Regions from separate parts of the Homo sapiens genome. Here region 2 is linked to region 1. Evidence: promoter capture Hi-C in human tissues and cell types (Jung and others, 2019). All regions are on one chromosome and are shown on one strand. The core of a region is centred on a gene start or on the middle of the fragment in contact, and the rest is flanking DNA. Distances in the headings are between cores, read along the strand shown.

What was found. The method cuts DNA at HindIII sites, captures the fragments that hold promoters and counts their contacts. A contact is called where the count stands out against the background at its distance.
Region 2: a fragment that was not itself captured here is called in contact with the fragment with the promoter of HOXC11 in region 1 in 2 of the 25 tissues and cell types used here (H1 embryonic stem cells and thymus).

The regions. Positions count from the first base shown.
Region 1 is chr12:53,970,154-53,977,354 of GRCh38, forward strand. HOXC11 (homeobox C11) reads left to right here and starts at 2,973. Exons shown (of 2, transcript NM_014212.4): 1 at 2,973-3,770; 2 at 5,028-7,201. The coding sequence starts at 3,089. The coding sequence ends at 5,260. HOTAIR (HOX transcript antisense RNA) reads right to left here and starts at 4,801. Exons shown (of 7, transcript NR_186241.1): 1 at 4,745-4,801. RefSeq lists enhancers at 4,199-4,793, 5,124-5,273. The HindIII fragment of the contact is 16,724 bases long and covers 1-7,201 here.
Region 2 is chr12:54,072,337-54,079,537 of GRCh38, forward strand. All of the region lies in intron 1 of FLJ12825 (a long non-coding RNA gene), which reads left to right. LOC100240735 (a long non-coding RNA gene) reads right to left here. Exons shown (of 3, transcript NR_026658.1): 3 at 6,503-7,104. Among named protein-coding and RNA genes, the nearest start is that of FLJ12825, 18 kb to the left of the region's middle. The HindIII fragment of the contact is 4,817 bases long and covers 2,210-7,026 here.

The DNA.
Region 1 (7,201 bases), core at 1,723-4,222:
AGGGCCGGATGGCCCTGCTGCAGAGAATTTCAGGTGAAGGCCAGGACTCAAAGCAGATGGAGGGGTCACAGGCACCCACCAGATAAGATACAAATAAGCCACCTGGAGCGGGCTTGACAAGGAAGGGATTGGGGGCCAGGGATGGCTCCTGTACAGGGAGGTATTGATGCTGTGGCCAGAATCCACAGGCTGAGAGGGTGCAGCCTAGGGCAAACATCTCAGCTGAAGCGTCCAGGTAGCCTGGACCCAGGGCTGGGCAGGGAGGCTACTCCAGACCATGGGCATTTTTGCCAGTAAATGTCTAGCTGACCTCAGTGGCCAGGGCCTTCTTTCCTTGACCGTAGCAGCAACTGACAGTTGCTAGAGGTTTTTTGATTTGTTGAAAAACTAAGCCATATCAACACTAGAGAACATTTTAAACTTTATGCCTTACTTTTAAGGGGAGGAATATTACTTTCCAGAAGTCTCTGTTGGGAGACCCCAGCGTTTCCTAGACATCAACTCTTTGACATTCTTTCTTGCATTTCTTTTTTGTTTCAAGGAAATAGGGCCGCCAGCAGCTCCTTGTTGCCGCCTGGCTCACTTTTATGGTGGCCCAGGAATAAACTTTGGTGGTCAAATTCAAGTGCTCAGTCCAGCAGCTGTCTCCTCACAGGATACAGCCCCTACCCCCATCTCAGTCCTGGCTTTGCTGAATCTGCCTTGGGGGATTGGGCCCCACATCACCCTGGAGGGCCAGGAGGGGGAAGGAAGCAGAGCCTTGGGTGGAAGTGGAGAAAGCGGGATCTGAGACTCGAGCCCTCATCCACACCTCTGCAAGGATAGGGGTACCTCTCGCTTCCCTCTTGCTGGTTCCTATCACTGTTTGGGCAGCATTTTGCCTTCAATAAACTCGAGTTTAATGAGGTCAGTGTGAACCCCATTAAAAGCCATAGTCCATAGTTCCCCACCACTATAATTAAAAATGCTGGCCCCATCTCACTCTATAAAAAGGGCTAGAGGAAAAAGGAAACACAGCAGATTTTTCTTTTCATGGCCCCTTACCAACAGAAGTCTCACACTTCAGCAAAGCCCCAATCTAGTTCTTCTTTGCTTCAGTTTAAGATCTGACCAGAACTAAAGGAGTAGCGCCCAGCATTGAGTGCGTAGAGGGGCACCTGAGACCTATCCCTGAGTATTCCAGAACCACCCTGAGAATGGGACCCATGGTGGAGGCAGACTCCACTCAGGTGTCACTTAAATGCTGAGCAAGTTTGAGGAGGCAGGAGCATTGAGGAGGAATGGATTTTAGGGGTTACATATGGAGACAAGCTACAATTTTTTGTGTCCTCCTTATCTGGTTTGGGAGCCGCAGCACCTTATCATGTTTCATCAAGACAAATCCATTCTAATTTCTTTAAGTGGAAACTAATTTTAACTGAGGGTTATGGATGTAAAGAGAGTTCGGGCTATTTTTTGTTTTCCCCTGAGTGTGCATTGGGCTGAGCCCTTGGGGGCTTCGGTTCTTCCCCTCCTTCCCAAACAAATTGTGCCCTGGCAGCTCCTCTTTGGATCCAAGGTTGCTTTCAGCTCATGCTGGTTGCTTTTGGCCCCTTGGACCCAGTCCAGAACCTTTCAATAAAGTGATTTTCAGATGCCCACATGTGTCCTGTGGTGCTCAGAGGGATGGAAGGCAAGGGGTTGGGGATGCAGAATGACTGAGCCTACTTCTTGGGCTACAGCTATCCAGGAGGCTGACAGACTTGTAGGAGGGCAGGACAGGGCTGAGAAATAGGAAGGAGGCACTAAGATCTGGTCACAGCCCCAGGGACAGAGGCTGGGGGCTTTGACTAGGGAGTGGCCGCTGGGCCTCCCCTGATGCCACAGCATCCACCGCTCCTTTCCACTGTCTGGTTAGTCTCTTCTGGAGACCCATACCTGGCCCCACCACCCACCTTACAGTCCTCAAAATCATCCAAGGATAAGAACCCCAAACCTAGTCCCCCCCACCATATTCTTCCTGGACCCCTACACTAGGCTTCTTTTCAGCGCACTAGCTGAGGCTGAGCCACTAAGCCAAAGGGCCCTGACATAGAAGATACATGGCTCTCATTCCAATCCTTTTCTTTGGGGTTTGGGATTTGAAAATCCACAGTGGATGTAGCTTTCTTCACATTGATTGACAATAAAGGCAGGCATGAAATATTCACCCAGGGCCACTCTCTCATACTAAATATTTAACACAACATTAGAGAAGGTTTTTCCCAGACTTCGCCAGGCACCGGCTGGGCGGCTGGCGCACTGCTCACCACTCGTTTATGACTAATCTGACTCCCTAGCCAGGGGCAGCACAGCAAGCCAGACAAAGTTGGGACACTGGCTTGCAGCTGGGCTGCCTCACCTTTGGGAAACTTCAGATACTCTTCCGGGAGTCTCTCTAAGGACTCCAGAAAGGTAGTCTTGACACCCAGCTCTGGCCAGGAAAAGAGTGGACTTCTTCAAACTCTTGTGAACAGGCGGTGTCTCTGCGGGTTGGAAGGGTAAGAGTCCCTGAGATTTAAGGGAAAGGATTCACTTCTCTGGGGAAATCAGGCAGTGGGGAAAGAAGTCCTCACTCCCACCCTCCTGGTGCTGCTCACAGAGAGGAGGCAAGACCCCCATACATGAGAGCCCTCCTCCTTCCCCCAATCCTGGGGGAAAAAAGAGCAGCAGCTAGAAAAAAATACAATTACCCCTTCCCAGCCACCACCCTCGCCCATCCCACCGCCCACCCCACCCCAACCCTCTCTCTCCTCCTTTGCTCGTGCTGTGGTATGGAGAGAAGGGGAGTGACGAGAGAAAAACGAATACAAATCTGCAATTGATTTTCATAATGTTTCTGCGGTGTTTGCAAACCAATCGCCTGAACGTCCCCGATCTTACCTAAGAGAGAACCCCTCCTACGTCTGCGAAGTGCTCCGAACTGATATATGACAATATCTACTTTGGATCACGTGCTCAGAGAGAGAGAGACTAAGACGGATAACGCGTCATCTCGCCTTCCCAAATTTTCCCCCCTCGCTAGACCGGGTCCAAAACCTCCATCCGGAGCCGGCAGGAGAGGAGAACGATGTTTAACTCGGTCAACCTGGGCAACTTCTGCTCTCCGTCGCGCAAGGAGAGGGGCGCAGATTTCGGCGAGCGAGGGAGCTGCGCCTCCAACCTCTATCTGCCCAGTTGCACTTACTACATGCCCGAGTTCTCCACGGTCTCCTCCTTCCTGCCCCAGGCCCCCTCTCGTCAGATCTCCTATCCCTACTCGGCCCAAGTGCCCCCGGTCCGGGAGGTCTCCTACGGCCTGGAGCCATCCGGCAAGTGGCACCATCGGAACAGCTACTCCTCCTGCTATGCGGCGGCCGACGAGCTTATGCACCGGGAGTGCCTGCCTCCTTCCACCGTCACCGAGATCCTCATGAAAAACGAAGGCTCCTACGGCGGCCACCACCACCCCAGCGCCCCGCACGCAACCCCCGCCGGCTTCTACTCCTCAGTCAACAAGAACAGCGTCCTGCCTCAAGCCTTCGACCGTTTCTTCGACAACGCCTACTGCGGTGGCGGCGACCCGCCCGCCGAGCCCCCCTGCTCCGGCAAGGGCGAGGCCAAGGGGGAGCCCGAGGCACCCCCGGCCTCGGGACTGGCGTCCCGGGCTGAGGCGGGTGCCGAGGCGGAGGCTGAGGAGGAGAACACAAATCCCAGCTCGTCCGGTTCAGCCCACTCCGTGGCCAAGGAGCCGGCCAAAGGAGCCGCCCCCAGTAGGTAGCAGCGGCCGGGGAACGGGCGGGCAGCGAGGGAGGGAGCGAGAGAGGGAGGGCGAGAGAAGGGGGGAGGCAAGGGGAGCGGGGACGGCCTCGTGTTTTGGGTCAGTCCGATTTTATGTGGAGTTTTATAAGCATTCAAAGGATTTTATTATAACCTACAAAGCCCTCTCTCCCAACGACTCGACTTTTTACGATGGAGAAGGGGTGGGGAGGGAGGGAAAAGGGCTCTTTGGAAAAGCCGGGTGAACCCCCCTCCCCCGTTATCTCCCTCGGTCTGTGAAATTTTTAAAAGCGCAACCATTGCGGGCGATATTAACTTTGATCGTGAACTTAGAGGAGCATTTAAGGAAGTATGGGGAGCCGGGCTGCCGAGGAGTGGGGAGGAGGGGAGGGGTGGAGGGGGAGAAAGGGGAGGGCGAGGGAAAGACAGGGAGAGATCCAGAGAGGGGGAGAGGTGGGGGAGAGGAGCAATGGAGCAGAACCTGAGACCGGAGAGGCAAGCCAGGACCGCTATGATCCTTCTTAAAACTAGTTTTGAAAATGTTCAAACTATGTGTTCGCGGGTCCTCGAGCAGAAACCCAAGCAACTCTGGGGTCAGCGGCGACAGGGGAATGGGGCGAGGCGGCGCAGGACTCCACTGCGTTCCAGGCGGGGGTCTGGGCGTTTCTCCCGGGTCCGCGGCCTTAGTGCTTGCCTAGAACTGCGGTGTGGAAGGCGCTGCCCCGCGGGCTTCCCGGGGCGCCAGGGCCCCGGAAGCGGCTCTCTGGTGTCTCGGTGCCTGCTGGCCGGCTTCCTCCCCGCCTCCCGACTGCTCTCGCCAGATTTCACTGCTTCGCGCCTGTTCTCAGCTTTCCCCCCAGATTTCTGGGGGAGGGGTTGGGCTTTCCGAACCACTAGGAGGGCGGCCCAGGAAGGGCCCGAGGGCGGAGGGGGAGCAGACAGGGGGCCCGAGGGGACGCACGTGTACCTGGAGGGCTTTCCTTCTGTCCCAGACCCTGTCAGCCGCGGCTCTCGCCTGAGAACTGGGGACGGGGTGGCGCAGTGGCGGGGGGGTGGGGACCCGCTAGACCTGGCAGGGGGTCGAGGCTTGCCCGGGTGCTGCGGCTGCAGGAGAGCCAGCCGCCTGGCGGGAGGGCTGCCCGCGGTGGGCTAGGAGAAGGGCCGCTGAGCGCTCAGCGGGCTGGGGTCGCCCGGGTCTCACGTGTCTCTCTCCCCCCTCTCCTCGCACTTGCCCCCTCCCCTCCCTCCAGACGCCCCCCGCACCCGCAAGAAGCGCTGCCCTTATTCGAAATTCCAGATCCGGGAACTGGAGCGAGAGTTTTTCTTCAACGTGTATATCAACAAAGAGAAGCGGCTGCAGCTGTCCCGGATGCTGAACCTGACGGACCGACAAGTGAAAATTTGGTTTCAGAACAGAAGGATGAAAGAAAAGAAACTGAGCAGAGACCGGCTGCAGTATTTCTCGGGAAATCCTCTGCTGTAACCTGCAGACCGGGCCCTTTTGGGGGCGGGGGGAGGGGAAAATTATTTTATTTTATTTTTATTTTTTATTTTCTAACTCGTCTTCTTTCCGCCGGTGGAAAACTGGACTGTGGCCAGGGCTGGCCCCCACCGCTGTGGCCGGCACTCCATTCCGGAACCTCCTGGACCCTCTATCTGACTCTCGCTGTGGGACAGGGACCGGGCCTGGAAAGGGGGTGAAGGGAAGTGTCTGATGCACGGCGAGTGAACACCGTTGGCGCCGAGGCCAAGACTTTGATTTAAAAGAAAACACACCTCGGCGACAATGTCTTGCTGCTCGGATTAGGTGGGGGAGGGGCGACAGTAGTGAGCGCCTGAGCCGAACAATCCTCGAACTAAAAGCCTTCCCTTGCCCATGTGAAAAGATCCGCTAAGACAGCATGTCTGCCAGCGGAAACTTCTCGAGCTCCCCCCTCTACCCCGCCCCACCTTGCAGCTAAATGTGATCCTGCCTTGCTGTGAAATTTCTGTACCTTCAACCTGGTGTTAGGTGTGCAAAGTCCGTGTCCTACCTCCGTCTTCGCCAAGGCCCCGCCCGAGCCTAGTTGTTCTCCCCCTGAATGTGTAGAACCTTCCTTTGAAATTTCTTAATCGGTGCATTGAGGTTTCCACATCTTTTTCCAAGCAGTGCCCCACTTCATGGATTTATAGCTATAGTCTATGCAGTCGTTACCTCTTTTTTTTTTTTTTTTAAGAAAATTGAAGATTGGGGTGGTGGAGGCAGTAGGGAGATGGGATTGGGCACCTCCCCCGTGCTGGGGCCTGGATTTTTGTAAATAAATTTCCCAAGCGTTTCTTTCCACCTGGAGGGAAAGGGGGGGACGCCCCCAGTGAGATTCAAATCACGCATCTCTACTCCTCTGCGTGAGTGCGTGTGTACATGTGCACTCCCCACCCTGCTCCCTTCCCAGAGGGATTGCTGTGAAATTTTTTTGGTGGCAAATAAAGATAAATTTCATTCTGTTCAATATTATGATTTTATTTGACCCTTTTATTAACCCCTCTCCTCTTAAAATCCTCCATGCTCCCATGGCAGCGGCGGAGGAGGAGGAGGCAGGCAGGCAGAGCCCAGCGGGTGAGGACAGGCAGGCAGAGGTGAGATAGGCCGGTGCTAGCCGGCCTGGAGCTCCTCTCCGCTGGCAGGGCCAAGAGTATGGCCGTAGTCTCCTCACATTCTCAAGCTGAGGACATTCCATAGCTACTCTGAAGCTCTCCTTTCTCACGTGCAGCTCGAGCTGTGTCCAAACGCCCAGCAACGGCTTTCTGTTTAAGTACACGTTTGTTGTGGAGTTAATTGTAACCATCATCGAATTTAAATTTATAGGAATTTTTTTGGCTCCACCGCCCTTCTGCCAGATGTCTCCGTCTGTCGCAGTTAAATGTGTAGTGTGGAGGTTAGGGCTTTTTTTTTTTTTTCTCTAGGAGAAATCTGTATTGGAATTTTTATACACTGTTTTTAAGGAAGGAGGGGACAGAAGGAGAAACCAGCCCCCTCCCTCTCCTCTCCACAGCTCCTGGGGGTGGGAAGGTGGGGCCTGGCTGCTTTCCCTCTGGCACAAATGGCCAGGCTCTTCCAGACACAACAAGACGCCTATACTGGGGCCACCCTGATGTTTATACATTGGGTGTCCCACAGTAGAAAGCCCCAGAGGTTTGTTTTGTAGGGGTTGGCACTGGGGATGGAGATGACCTGCGGGGACAGTCACCATACCCATCTATATTTGCTGCATGTTTCTTCTGTATAAAGATAATCATGGCCCTTGCAGTGCTTTCAGTGAGGGCACTTCGTTGGTCTCTGTTTCAAATTCGTTATTTGGGGGCAGAGGTTCAGGACAACTCATCTCATCTTTCCCTCCTCTTTCTGTCTTTGTATAATTCAAAGAAAATATTTTTGTCAATACAA
Region 2 (7,201 bases), core at 3,368-5,867, 100 kb after region 1:
AAAATCCCTTCCATTTCTATGATTATCTACTGTATATCTAACCCATAAGGCATGGTTTGAAAGTATTAAAACCTAGCAGATAGGGAAACACACAGCCAGGGTTCAGATCTAGTGATGTGACCTTGGGTGGGTGACTTAACCTTTCTGAGAATAGATTTCCTCATCAAATTCAGTATAAAGCAACTGGCATATAGTAATCTTCTAGAAATGGAAACTATTATAGTTATGAGTACTGAGGGAGCTTCAGGACACTATTCATGAATTGGCACTAAGCCATGGAATGAATGGTCACCATAGTCAGAGCAAATCAGAGGTCCAGACCCTGATAAATTCATGCATAATCTTTTTCTTTTTTCTTTCTTTCTTTTTTTTTTTTTTTTTTTTGAGACGGAGTCTTGCTCTGTTGCCCAGGCTGGAGTGCAGTGGCACAATCTCGGCTCACTGCAAGCTCTGCCTCCTGGGTTCACACCATTCTCCTGCCTCAGTCTCCTGAGTACCTGGGACTACAGGCACCTGCCACCACGCCCAGTAAACTTTTTGTATTTTTAGTAGAAATGGGGTTTCACCGTGTTAGCCAGGATGGTCTTGATCTCCTGACTTCGTGATCCGCCTGCCTCAGCCTCCCAGCGTGCTGGGATTACAGGCATGAGCCACTGCGCCCGGCGCATAATCTTTTTCTTACCTGAGTGAATCTTGTTTTTTCCCAACTTAATCTTATCTTTCAGGATCTGCCAATAAAAGAAGCAGAAAGAGTCCTGTACCCCTCCATGCAGCCTGGAAATTTTAGGTTTGGGCCAAAGTTGGCCTTACCCACAGACAGGATGGGTGGCTGCCTTCATGACAGGATTTAAGAAAAATCATAAACCATCCTCACCCAAATTTGTATTATGCCACCTGCCACATGGGTCTAAAATTCCATTATTATAGATATTTCCCCCGATCTGGGCAGTGGCTTCTGAAGACCCCTACGAAAAACACACAGTTGCCTGGGAGAATGTGCATGTCAACACATTGGTGAAAGTTTCCTAACCTGCAATCTAGCTTCTTCTTCAATAAAGAAGAATGGTCTGGAACTCAGGACAAGTAAATTTTGATAGGACTGGGGTTCTTAAAGGGCCAGAGCACAGGCCTCTTCCTTTCAGGAGGTACACATAGAATGTATGGACAGCAGAAAGACACCAAATGGGCGTGGGACCTACTAAGAATGTCCACTGGGCCATCTGTGATTTAGGGAGCTGAGACAATGAGACAATTCTAACTTTCAGTTCACCTTGATATTGACTCTACCTAGGTCTTGTACCTTCCAGCACAGACTTGCATCCTCCCAAGAGCAATGATGTACTTGGGCAAGAGGTAGAGAGGCGATACTAGTGTCTGAGTAGTCTGAGCAGCGACATCCAGGTCTCAGTGACTGAGACCAAGCAGCTCTGTCTCTGACCAACACAATCATGACAGCAGCTAAAGGTCTCCACTCTGGGTTGGGGTCAAGGAAATGAGCAACTAAGAGTGTGCTCTGCAGATCACTGGGACTCTAGAGGGTCTTTTAGTTGGTCCAAAAGTCCACCCAGAATCCGTCGTCCAAACACACGTGACTGGTTTGTGTTTTGTTTTTTGTTTTGTTTTGTTTTTGAGATAGTCTTGCTCTGTCGCCCAGGCTAGAGTGCAGTGGCGCAATCTTGCCTCACTGCAACCTCTGCCTCCCAGGTTCAAGCAATTCTCCTGCCTCAGCCTCCCTAGTAGCTGGGATTACAGGCACCTGCCACCGCGCCCAGCTAATTTTTGTATTTTTAGTAGAAATGGGGTTTCACCATCTTGGCCAGGCTGGTGTCGAACTCCTGACATCATGATCCACCTGCCTCGGCCTCCCAAAGTGCTGGGATTACAGGCGTGAGCCACCACGCCTGGCCTGGTTTGTGTTTTAATTGTAATCTCTGAGGAGATATAAATATATATTTGAAAGAGCAAAGAAATTAATATTTGAAAAAGTATAACTATTGTCATGGTTATTTACTAAGGAAAAAATGTGTGTGTGAATATTGAATATGTATGTATGTGTGTAAACACACACACGTATTCTTCCCTCCCTCCCTCCTTTCCTTCCTTCCTTTCTTTCCATTGACAAAAGAGGCCAATGAGATATGCGACAACTGGCATCTCTGCAATCTGACCAGAACAGCCTGAAGGCCACCAGAGTGGATGTTACATCTGCAGGACTGGCCGCTTTCCTACCAATGTTTTTCAACTCGGATGTTTTGGCATCATGGCAGCACACATCCTCTCTCTAATCCAGTCTGCACCTAAACCCTGTGTAGGCAGTTTCTGCCGTAAAAAGAGCAGCCCGATAAGTGAGAACTTGGTTCCTCCTACATTACCCTAAATATTGCTGTGATATCAGGGAAATAATATTAATACTTACAACAACTACAACCAAGTTGTAGGGCCTCAACTACTCCCCTCCCCAAACTTTCCTCCTCTGAATTATGAGAAAACTTCTTTAAGAAGGTTGGAAGGCCGGGCGCGGTGGCTCACGCCTGTAGTCCCAGCACTTTGGGAGGCCAAGGCGGGCGGATCACGAGGTCAGGAGATCGAGACCATCCTGGCTAACACGATGAAACCCTGTCTTTACTAAAAATACAAAAAATTAGCCGGGCGTGGTGGCAGGTGCCTGTAGTCCCAGGTACTCAGGAGGCTGAGGCAGGAGAATGGCGTGAACCCGGGAGGCGGAGCTTGCAGTGAGCTGAGATCACACCACTGCACTCCAGCCTGGGCGACAGAGTGAGACTCCATCTCAGAAAAAAAAAAAAAAAAAAAAAAAAAAAAAAAAAAAAAAAAGCAGGTTGGAAGAACTGGGAATGAGAGAGGAGAATTGGGAATGGGGGAGAATGTGTTAAGCAGGTGTAAAACATAGGAAGAGGGTCTGTAAACGCTCCATCTCTGAGAGGGGGGCTTTGTGGACGGGAGGAGAAGGAACTAAAGGGTGGTAATTAGCTTATTATTGTTTCCCTTGGGTGTTGTGAGAATTCCTTAGGAGACACTTGTAAAAAAGCAGAGGGAAGACAGTAAATACACATCTAATGATATGCTAAATAAATTATTATTGTTATTATTATGACTATAATAGCAATTGTAACTTGCTTCCTGCTCGAATTTCCACTAAAGATGGGAACTGACCCCCTTACTGCCAGGCCTCCACAGCTGTCAATAACCCCCAGCCCCCGCCTCCCCAGGAATCAGTCGAGTAATTGGGCAATATAGACTAGGCTTCAGTTAACAGCCGTTCTTCTGGTGTCTGCAGGAGAACCAAACAGGAGCTCAACATAAGCAGCAAGGCCTCTGCCAGGTACCTGCTCTAGCAAAGAAAAGAAGAAAAGGAACCTTGCCGAGAATCGTGGGGGTTATATTTAGGGAATAACTTCTTGATTTCCAAGCAAGAGAACTCAGGGAGGGCAAAAACTGAGGCAGGCATTTAGGGAGGGGGCGGGTCACAGAAACAAAGGGGAAATATACAAATTAGGGATACTCAGTCTAGAGATCATAGGCTTCTAGGACTCCTGCAACTATCAAGGGCACTTCCAGAATTTTGCTAGGAAGTGAGCCAATTGTTTTTGTCAGCTTCTCAAAGGGGTCTGGGACCCAGGAACAGCTAAGAGCCATTCCAGCCCAGGTAAAAGGGACCCAGGACTCTTTGGGGTTAATAATAGTGGCCAGTGTCTATTGGTTTCCTGCCTTTTGGCTAAGGACAAACCAATAGACACTGGCCACTACTGTAACCTGCTGTTTACAGCAACTGTCAGCAATCCCCCCCTCAACCCCCCTACTTCTAGCCAGAGCCCAGGCACCTGCCTTGAGCCCTTCTTAGGCAAATATATGTAAATGTAGGACCCTCAGTTCTCCCTCCCTGAATTTCTTTAGGGAAAGCAACAACCATCCCTGTAAGCCATAGGTATTCATGGGGAGGAAGGAGAGGGCTAGTTGTCTGAGAGGGAAACTGCCAAAGGCTGCAGACTAGGAAATGGGATTCCAGGTTTAAGATAGCTCCTTTCTGGACCTCAGTCCTTCACCTAGTCACCTAGTCACAGGGTGGATTGTCTCTAAGGATACTTAGGGGAAAAGGAACCAAATTCGGGAGGGTCCTCCTTGCTTTAAGCCTTGATGGGAGAGGGGGAGGCCAACCCTTCTCTGCAGACTGGGATCCTCACCAGACAGAGGAGCTCCAAACCTGCCCATCTCATCCCATGCACCGACGGTGCCTGGCCTGGCTCCAAACTCCCAAAAGGAACTATTTTACAGGGACCAAAAAGGGGACACTGGTGATAATAATAATAAAAAAAAAAATGAAACAATCTGATTGCGGCATTACTGGATCAGAAAATGTGTGACCTTTTTAAAGTTAAATTGTTAAAAATTTTTAACTATTAAACATTTTAAATATTAAGCCTGATCTGTTTGGTAGCCCTGGAGCAGGGCTGAGGCATAGAGAGAAACCTTTCCTTCAGCCAGGTTGTCTGTCTCGCACTGATTTATTTTTGTTTTATTTGTGGATTTCTTAATGGACCCAATGGTGGTTCCTCTTTGCACCCCTCGGATTGACAGGCAATTCCTTCCTAGCCCAGGTCTCAGCTCTGGTTTAGTTTTCATAACTTGGGGGTCCAGGGAGCCAGGAGACTGGAGATAGAAAGCAGAAGTGCACTGGGGTGGTGGGTCTGCCTTGGCTTACCCCCAAATTTCCAGATTCCAGGTGCCTTGCTCCAGTACCCGCCCCATCCTAGGCTCAGGATGCTCTCCCACCCTACTAACCACCGGTCCGGTCAAAGCCCAAGCTGCTGCCAGCCGCCATGTTATCTCCCAGCCTGGCTAGGGTGCCTGCTAGCCTGCAGTGGCTATGGTGGTGTGCAGAGGGAGGGTGAGTTTTTATATTGACTGCCATTCCGTTTACCTCAAGAAGTATGTTTGGGCAACCATTCTGTGCCAGACAGCAGACAGAGTCCCTGCACTGCAGGAATTCCTAGTCCCGTGGGCAGGGGTGTGTGGAGGGTGGCACATGGTGGTTAGCCTGGTCCAAGGGTCTCCACTCCCTTCCTAGCATCCTAGAGATCCTGGAGGCCAGGTTGGCCACGGAGACTGAGTTCAGGATAATTCCTTCACACATTCAACGAAGTTATCTGTAACTCCCTGTTTAAAAACAACAACAACAACAACAACAAAAAACCACAAAAACTGGCAGTCGTGGGAGGTATTTCCCCACTGGGCTGGTTGGCAGCAGGGGAAGAATTGGGGACCCCTGGCCCAGCGGTGCCTGGAAGGAGGCTGATGTAAGAGTGGTGTAGCTGTGAGTGGGAGAAGTGAGATCTAGTGGGGTAAGTCCACGTTCCCTGTTCCTAAACTCAAATTCTCCCTGAAAAGACCCAGGGCAGCACTGTTAGGGAGCTGAAGGAGTCCCTCTGTGCCCAGAGGGAATTAGGCCACTCAGGCCTCAGAGAAGGAGGGCGGGTGGTGAGGACAACCTCCCCAAGCCCCCATCAGAGCAGGCCCAATACTTGCAAATTCACTCCTCAGTCCACTAGATTCTGGTCCCATCCTACATCCCCGCCAAGGCACAGGAGGCCCAGATAAAAACAAGCTTTATTTGGCCAAATTAACTCACTTTCCTGGATTACCTCACTTATCGGAAAGTGAAAGTACACCCCACGCTCCTCGCCCTGTCCCTGCCTAAACCTCTTTATCTCTGAAGCCCACTCTTTGAGACCTAAAAATTAGGGTTCAACAGAAACGCTCTAGGACTACAGGAGGGACACGACAGTCCCTATCCTACAGCGCACTAAAAGCCAAACTGAAGGCTGCTTCCTCGGTGGAGAGTGTCTCAGGGTGAGGTGGTGGGACTGTTCGCCGCTTCCCATTTTACAAGCTCCTTGTCCACAGCCGTCTGCGCCAGCCCCTCACAAAACCGGTTCTCGCCTTCTGGTGGGTGCTGGTGTTTACCCCTTTCCTCCCACTATCTGTTCAAACCCAGCCCACCCACCCTCCATTCACCTCCCCTCCTTAAGGCTCCCTGAGCTCTATTTACCCTTTTGTAACTCCATCCCTCCATAAGTACACAACTCTCCTAGCTGGTTTCCTAGAGGGCAGATACAGTGTTTCCAGTTGGCCCTCTGCAGATATCTGTGAACAAGTCTCTCCCATCCCCTACATATAAAGATGTCTGTTCTAGACAAACGGGCCTAAGTCCCAACGTAAAAACATCACAAGATAATTACACCTTATATACATACAGATCTCTCTATAGAGTTATATTTGAAAGTGTCTATAACTCTAGAGAGAGATTGCAGCATGCACATATAGGACTATAATTATTTATGTCTATTTTTATAACTATGTAGTTATAAATAGATATGCCTATATATAGTGATAATAATATAGAAATATCTCCATAGCCATATATGGCTCTAAGTGAATGCTCTAACTACTCTATTTCACAATCAATAAGTATATATCTCCTGATACATAATTCTAACAATATACGTTTTTATCTATATAGCTGTTCAGAGATATAAATCTGTCAGGATATCACATGTACATAAAGCCGGATGGCTGTAAGAGAGTCGTATATTTTCCCATATATAAATCTGCTCCTATAACTACTGTATATGCACAAATACAATGGAAATAATTATATTTCCCTCAAACATAAATCTGTAAATACAACCACAGCACATTTAGGTACGGTTAGACATAGAGCAATATTTCCTAGACATCAGTCTGTCAATAGAGCCACCAGTGCCTCCAAACAGAGAGTTATAGAGGGAGTTATAAATAAACTCTCCAGATGGGAACCGGTCAGTAGAACTAGATGTAAACATGACTCCAAGCTGTTCTTTCTTCTTCTTCTTCTTCTTCTTTGTAAGATATTCCTGAAGCAAGCCCAGTCATATAACAGGGTGCAGAGGTGTCTGGGTACTGGTATTTTTCCCCCCAGGAGGGTCGGATGTCGCTGGACTTTGGGAAACCGAGCAGGAGTAGATAGGGGACAGTGCCCGCTCCCAACGCAGCCCAGAAGTCCCTTCCTTCTGTCTCCTGGTGGCTGAGAGCTCGGGCAAGTGGAGAGGCCTAAGGGAGAAAAATGAAAAAGCAGAGTCTGGCTTGAGTCGTTTGGCCCTTCGGCCTAAAACCCTCTCAACAGGGAAGCCCCGACCAGGCGTCGGAG